Regions from separate parts of the Homo sapiens genome. Here region 2 is linked to region 1. The links are contacts of gene promoters, found by promoter capture Hi-C in blood cells and fetal thymus (Javierre and others, 2016). All regions are on one chromosome and are shown on one strand. Each heading gives the region's core, a stretch centred on a gene start or on the middle of the fragment in contact. The rest is flanking DNA. Distances are from core to core; before and after follow the strand shown. Region 1 holds the start of S100B (S100 calcium binding protein B). Region 2 overlaps DIP2A (disco interacting protein 2 homolog A).

The links. The method cuts DNA at HindIII sites, captures the fragments that hold promoters and counts their contacts. A CHiCAGO score of 5 or more calls a contact.
Region 2: a fragment that was not itself captured here is called in contact with the fragment with the promoter of S100B in region 1 in 1 of 17 cell types (naive CD8 T cells); the score reaches 5.0 in naive CD8 T cells.

Annotation. Positions count from the first base shown.
Region 1 is chr21:46,603,034-46,606,839 of GRCh38, reverse strand. S100B (S100 calcium binding protein B) reads left to right here and starts at 1,758. Exons shown (of 3, transcript NM_006272.3): 1 at 1,758-1,827. RefSeq lists an enhancer at 219-720. The HindIII fragment of the contact is 9,714 bases long and covers 1-3,806 here.
Region 2 is chr21:46,529,383-46,533,411 of GRCh38, reverse strand. It overlaps DIP2A (disco interacting protein 2 homolog A), which reads right to left. Exons shown (of 38, transcript NM_015151.4): 10 at 1,175-1,285. Among named protein-coding and RNA genes, the nearest start is that of DIP2A-IT1, 69 kb to the right of the region's middle. The HindIII fragment of the contact is 8,719 bases long and covers 1-4,029 here.

The DNA.
Region 1 (3,806 bases), core at 509-3,008:
CACTGTTAAATGGTGGAGCCAAGATTCAGACCCAGCAATTGTAGGAATCTGTGGGAAGCTGGTGAGGTTGTATCCACGAGCTCCTGGGGAGCCTGGGCAAAGAATACCATCCTGGGGCCCCAGAGCGCTTGAAAGCCCTTTTCCTCCCTGTGGCAGATCCTCTCTCTCAGCCTGCTTCCAAGACCTGGGAACAGGGTGGACCCACGGCCCCACACTTGCCATCCCAGGAAGCTGCAGTGTGCAGAGGGCAGGCCCGGCTGGGCCCTCCTGCTGAACGCAGTGCCCTAAGCACAGGTGTACGGTCATTGCATGAGTGGATTTCAAACTATTTTTAACCCCTGCAGGAGCAGGCTAGAGCGTTTTCTATGGACACTGAAGGGTTAATCCAGAGCTCAGGCTGCCACTCTGGGGAAGTGGTCAGCACTTACAGGAATGGTCCCTCCAACATCTGAGCGAGGAAGGGGCACAGAGCACAGTTGTGCCTTCCTTGGGCCTGGGCAAGCTCTGTGCTTCACAGAGCAAGCCTGTGTCAGATCCTTCAGCAGAGACCACAGCCAGGGGTGGTGAAGCCGATGAGGAAGTGAGGGCCAACCACACTGCTCAGGCTGTTCCTCACAGGAGGCTGGGGCAGGCTGAGCCACGCAAGACCACAGCTCTCAGCCCTGTGCTATTTCCAGGGCACACTTACAGATCCTGAATGGTAGAGAACGTCCTGGATAAAACAATGACAGCAAGACAGCCATGTACACAGATATCTTGTGGGAAACCCTTTCACGGCCACTTTGAAACTGGGTTGGGAGAAGGACGTGATGCTGGGTCAGGCATCCATTGGGGACCATGGACATTTTTGGAGAGTTTGGGCCAATGTTCTTGTGTAATTTGTCAGAAGGAACACCTACTTCTTCATTCTTGTGAAGAAGAACCCATAAACTGGCCCCCGTGTTCAGAGGCTCCAGTCGAGCGAGTTGAGGGGACAGCTGGACTTCTCCTTCCTCAGGCTGGCTGGAGGCTTCAGCAAGGGGGCACACCGTCCACACGCCTCTGTAAAACAGCGTTCGAACGGGACATCTCTAAGGCATCGTCCAACTCTGAGAGTCTGTGACCTTCCACCCTGGGGTGGAGGGAAAGGCCTTGGGATACAGTCCACACATCACGTTTTCCCCTAAAAGTACCACCCGTTTTAGTCCCTGCAGACACTGGCCTCAGCAGCTTCTCTGAGGCAGCCCCGTTGAGCCCAGGGCTGACCACAGACAAGCACTACTGTCCACAGAACTTCACGCCCAGTGGGGCCAGACTTGGAGGATGGCAGAGGAGAGAAGCTCCAGGGGCCTCTCCATTAGAAACCAACTTGCAGGCCACTTAATCTCCTATGCTCAGCCTGTACTTGGAAGCTGCTTGTTCTTGGCTGCACATTTGCTTTGTTTGAATCAATTAATCCAAGTCTCTCTCCTCTCCCCACCCCCAACCTTGCCTTTAGGGTGACATCAATATTCATGTAATAAAGAAATCGCACAAAAAGCTGACTCCCCACTTCCTGCCCTACAGGCCCTTTTTTCTTCCTCAGCCCATGTGCAATCCTGGCTCCCAGCAAGTCCCCGGGGCTGCTTGGTCAATGCAGCCCTGTGTGCAGGCCTGGCAGCCCTGCCACCCCCGCCTTCGGCTCCCATTGGCTGCCACGGCCTGCAGTGGGCTGCACCAGGGTTCATCCATCCTCCCTGGGCAGAGGGAATAAGAGGCTGCCTCTGCCCACCAGTCCTGCCGCCCAGGACCCGCAGCAGAGACGACGCCTGCAGCAAGGAGACCAGGAAGGGGTGAGACAAGGAAGAGGTGAGAAAGAGCCAGGCCAAGAGGACGCTCAGGAAGAAATGGTTCTTTTCTTTTGGGTGGAACGGAATGGAGGGGTAGAAACTAAGTGGTAGCTTAAAAAGCCCCTTTAGGACAATTGGCAGCATTTCAGAAGTGTCAATAGGATGATGTGTTTTAATCTCCACATTACTGCTGCTTTGTGGACACCTGACTGCATCAGCCCTAGACAGCTAGAGGTGTGTTTTGCCATAAATCAGAGAAACGTCAGGTTTCATGGCCCAGAAGTGATTGTTGACATTTTCCCAGCGGTACTACAAATACTGCCTCTTCTGTAACTATTTGAAGAGTAAAGATTTTGCTTCCCACTGGGGCTAAAAATGATGGAGAACCTAATGCTAGTTTAGTCCTATATCATAAATAAATGCTTCCCTTTTCTCCTTATATTTCTTCCACCGCCCTGGGTAAGTAACTCTTCAGTTTTCCAGTTTCCCTCAGTTTGAAGTGCCAGGGTCCCCACAGCCCCAGGACGCCACTCAGAAATTACGTAACAATTACAAATAAATTGGGTCAAAGAAATCGGGGTTTTGGTGGGTTTTAACTTTCCTCAGTCTCACAGTTTCTCAGGGAGGTCGAACCCCTTCTTTAGAGGGATCCTCACACGCTAGGTAACTTGTCTTTCTAAGGAGTTAAAGTTCAAAAGTTCTCTTGTTCTCAATATTAAAAGATTAATGTAGGACATTCAAAGAATGTGAGAAAGAAACGGACATTTATTTCCATTTCTCTTAAAAGATAAACTATAAACCATCAACTATTTCTTAGGTCAAAGGGAAAAATTTAACAAGAATTTAATTGATTTGTAGTGTGGTTATGAAGAAAACCATATTTTCTAGTGGTTTCTATTAGTGTTCTAATATATGGGATACATGTTTTATGCCTTTCCTTTGTAATAATCCCATTAGTCACAATTCATAGAAAAACAATTTAACCTCCTTTTCCCCAAATCATCATGGACTTTGAGGAGCATCAGAATGATGTAAAAGTGTCTTGTTTTGTTTAAAAAAATACACACACATACAAACATGCATATATCAATAATTGAAAACTTGAGTGCAAAGAATAAGAAAGCATGAAATGTTAAAGATTTTAATCCATCTTAATTGTTCTATTTGTGAATTATCAAATTTTTAGGGACTCAAGAGCAAAATAAAGTACACTGATTATTAATAGAATGACTTTAGCAAAGATCTGGCCAGTATAAAAAAATCTTCAATCCTGTTTCCTTCGGAGGATCAGAAATAAATAAAATAATTCCAAATTATTTTTAAGATGTAAGTTATATATTCAACATGGGAATGATTTTTCAACACTATTTGATTTATTAATTTGTTTTTAATTATGACAGCGCAAACGTTCTTATTTAATGATTAGAACTCAAGGCCAAAAGCTGGTAAATTTCTCTGACTGCGCATCTGTTTTGTGAAACAACTGACAAGGCAACCTTTGTAAAATGCGCCTCATTCCCAGACTGACCAGATATTTCCTTGGTTCGTAGGCTGTGGCGTAAGGTACTTGCTGTGAGGGAGGTAGGGGGGCTCTTACTTTGACAGCTGCAGAGAAACACCTATTCCTGCCCCCACCCCCTCCCGCCGTCCCAGTCACTGCAGTGAATGAGCCACCCTTTCGGTACACTGGAGGTGGAATGCAGGCTCAGCAGCTCAGCTTTCTGCTGGATTCTGTCCCTCCCTGCGACAGAACCACACCCATTTGATCAGTTAAACTTAGGATACATTTTTTTTTCCTGGTAGATCAAATAACTTTCACTGTTATTCTTCAAAAAGATTGCGGCAATTCTACCATATTTATTTTTCCTGATGAATTTTACAGCTGTTTTTGTCATGTCACCCATCCAAAAAAATTCCATTGTTTTTATTAAAAATGATTTAAATTTACATATGAATTTAAAGGAAAAACTTCCTACATTTTATGTTCCTCAGAATCTC
Region 2 (4,029 bases), core at 876-3,375, 74 kb after region 1:
AAACTTCCAGAATAATTCAGTCCCATTATTGATATATATGATCTTTTCACGGAAATAGTTCATGAAAATGTGACAACTATGTTTAAATTTAAAAGATAATTTTGGTTTGTATTTGTGTTGAAATATAAAGTTTAATGGGCTAATTTCTCAAAGTTTATTCTTACAAATGACATTTAGAAGCATTTTTAATAAACTCCAAAGTTAATGGCATTGAAATTTCTATTGAATCATGTTTGAAATTTACAAATTAATCTAGAGAGGCCTGGTCACCAACGATATTAAATTATTTCCACACAGAAACACATTTCCTTGTAGCCAAGTCTTCTGTGTCCCTCAGCAGTATTCTGTCATTTTCTTCATATAAATTTGACAAATCTCTAGTTTTACTCCTAAGAACCACTGCATTCAAATACCTGCCCATCACATATTATGCTTTGAGATACACTAGTTTGATTTGCAAATTTTACTTTTGGGATTCTTGAATATTTCTGGATAATGCTCCTGTTAACAACTGCCTGAATTCTGGGACAGGATGACAGAAAACTGATTTTCTCAAATTCATGCCTTGTCTATTTTTTTTCAGTAATCATATTATTGATAGTTATATCAAAAATGTTACAGATACCTAGATCAGCAAGACCCCACATTAATAATTTATCAGCAACAGAAACTGCCTACGGTCATATAAGTGAACAGAAATGCAAGATAATTTCCATCTCGTTTATTCAAAACTGCCACTGAGAAGTGAGCTATATCACTGTAATGATATATTTATCCCTAAGAAATAATAATTATTTTCTATAAACATATGGTTTTGAGGAAAAGTTGAACAAAATCTTATTGAATCATAATTCTATTCATTAGAGGAAAAAATGGCTATCATTTCTGTTGGGAAATTCATGTAGATGATAGAACAGCTCCACCTAATAAGAGTGTGGTGTGGGAGCATCACCAGCAAAACGGTTCTCAGTGCCCCTCTCATTAACAAGAAGAGAGGCAGGCAAAACGGCATCTGATTTCTCTTGAGTCCTGGCCAGCCTGTTGACTACTAGCTTTCTCTCCTCTGTCAAAACAGCTGCTTGCTGCCTGCCCACATGAGTGAAAAGGAAGTAAGATACTGCTGGTATCAAGTTCAGAAGCGAACCACACGGGACCTGAGCCATGGGTTTGCTACCTTTCTTGTTAATGGCACTTCTATGGGGACAGGAACCAGCTCTGCCAGGAGACACCCATAAAATGCAACCATGAACATCACAGGGTCACTATTCGGAAACACGAGCGCCACCTACAACAGGACAAAGAAATGAATATTCCAAATTTCCAATTTTTACAATATCTAGTTAAATTAAAAGCTAGTTATAAATAAAATTTTTGTAAGCCCCAAATATTGTAATAATTGTGCTTGAAACCATAAGGGACAAGTCCAAATAGTATTTAACTGAGTAGAGACAGTTGACTCAGGGCCTTTGAGAACACGCAACAATGAATAACCAATAAGTGCTGACTTTGTAAGACAAAATTTAAGCTGTATCTATATTCTGTACTTGAGGTCTGGAAATTTAGTTTCTAACAAGTTTGTTTGTTGAAAAGGGCAAGGTTCTCCTTCAAAATTTGGTTTTAACAGTGGTTGCCCAGAATGTAACCTATAACCTTCAGACTAGATGTTTGGTATGGAAAGTATATTTTTACAGAATTTGTTAGGAAGAGCTGTGCTCACTTTTATAAAGTGTAATATTATAGGAGGCAGAATTTGCCACCAATTTCTTCAACTCAATCACTGTGACCTTGTCCATTTTATTATGATTCACCTAACCAAAGAGATTCTCTTGCAAGTCAAGAATCTGAAAGTCTTTATCCTTGTAAGAATGTTTTTCAAGAAAATTAGTGATTCTTGAATTCATTCTAAAGCGTTGCATAAAATCTCATCTATGAGCACAACATATCATAAAGTATTATTCTTAAACTGTTTACATTTTTATAGCCAAGTACACATTTCCTTTCTTTTCTGATAACAGCTACCTCCATTTCTACTTGCGTTGCTTTCTGTGTATTCTCTAGCTAATTTGTTTTAAAATACTCCCTCAGCTGGGTCAAATACCCACCTACTGGTGGGTCATTTTCCAAATAACCACCCACTCAGGAGAGCCGTGAGTGTCCCCTGCTGCTGAGGACTCCACTGCTGAGGGTCTCGGTTCTCCTGATGGTGGGTGCTGAGGATTCCACCCCACCCTGGAGTCTTGGTTCTCCTGATGGTGGCTCTGCTGCCCCCCCTGGACTGCTGCCAGTGATCGTCCTGGGGCCTCCACTGTGGTCCTCCTGCTTGCACCCTACTCACTCACTCACTCATGTGGCTGAGGGACATCTTCTAAGAACTTGACAAGAAAGTGCTTGCGAGCCAAACGTTTCTGAGTCCTGCATGTCTGAAAATGGCTATACTATTCTCAAATCTGTTGAATCTCTGGGAACAGAATTTTAAGTTAAAATTATATTCCCTCTGAATGTCTGAAGCATCATTCCACTCTCTTTCAGTTTTACCAATGAGAAATCCCAAAAGCCACTGTCATTGCCAATCCTTTGTGTACATCCTACTTTTCCCCTGAAAGCTCTGGGATTCTTTTCTGTACCCCTCGTATTATGCAATATTATGGGCATGCGTTTTGGTGTGCATCCTTGAATGTTTACACTCTCCAGGTCCGGGATATTGTCCTGAATTACTATTTTCATTTAAAATGTTCTACTTTCTGTTCTCCTTTCTCTTTCTCGACTCCAGTTATCAGTCAGGTGTTGTGTCTTCTTGATCGAGTCTTTTTGTCCTATTTTACTCCGCTCTCCATCTCTTAGTCTTTCCTACCGGCATCCTTTTCTTGACTTATGAAACATCTTCATCTCTGATTTCCAAGAATATTAATACTCACTTTTTAGAAACATTGTTTTCTGTATCTAGCTTTCCTTGTTGTTTCCTCTTTCCTCCCTTCCTTACTTTTCTTGTCTCTTTCTCACTCCCTCTCTTCCCTTCCCTTTTCTTTGTCTTTTGGTATTTTCTCTCATATTGACATTTCCTTCTTAAAAGTCCTTGGCTAATAGTTCATATTAAAGACTTAGGCACTGAAAGAGCTACTTGGAACTGTCTGCCAGCTTGTTAACCTGCAGTTTCCTTGTTGGGTGATCTGACACAGGTGACCTTCTCACTAGGGGATTTCACTGGTATGTTGATTTTCACCATGTTCTCCTATTTTCCACCCTGGACTTTCTAGTATACCAGGGTCCTCCGGTCTGGTCCAGCTTGCCTACAGTAGTACTGTCCAACAGAAGTTTCTATGATGACAGAAATGTTCTACCTCTGATCTATAAATACAGTAGCTACTAGCCACACTCCTACTGAGCCCTTGAAATGTGGCTTGTGCAACCAAGAAACTAAATTTTTTATTTTATTTAATTTTGGTTAATTTAAATAGCCCCAAATGGCTACTGCCAACCATATAGGGCAGTGTAGCACAAGAGAATAAGTCTCCAGCATCCTATTTTGGCAGATAGGTACAAGGAGGTTACCTGGACACATAGAATAGGGAAGGAGATAAAAATACAGAATTTCACAGCAGGGTTTCAGACCTTCAGATTTTAATTCATAAAATCTAAGCTCTGGAATCTAACATTTTTAATATCAACATATATGAAGTCAAACAGAAAAGAAGATGAAGAAACAGTGGACAAACAATGAAACAACGAGTGCAGAAAAAGAATGCTGCTTTACTCTACATCACAAACTTTGCCATATTTAATATTTTTCACTGCTTTTTTTTTTTTTTCTCTTTGAGACGGAGTCTCACTCTGTCGCCAGGCTGGAGTGCAGTGGCGAGATCTTGGCTCACTACAACCTCCACCTCCTGGGTTCAAGAGATTCTCATGCCTCAGCCTCCCGGGTAGCTGGCATTACAGGCACGCACCACCACGCCCAGCTAATTTTTTGTATTTTTAGTAGAGACAGGGTTTTGCCATGTTGCCCAGGCTGGTCTCAAACTCCTGAGCTCA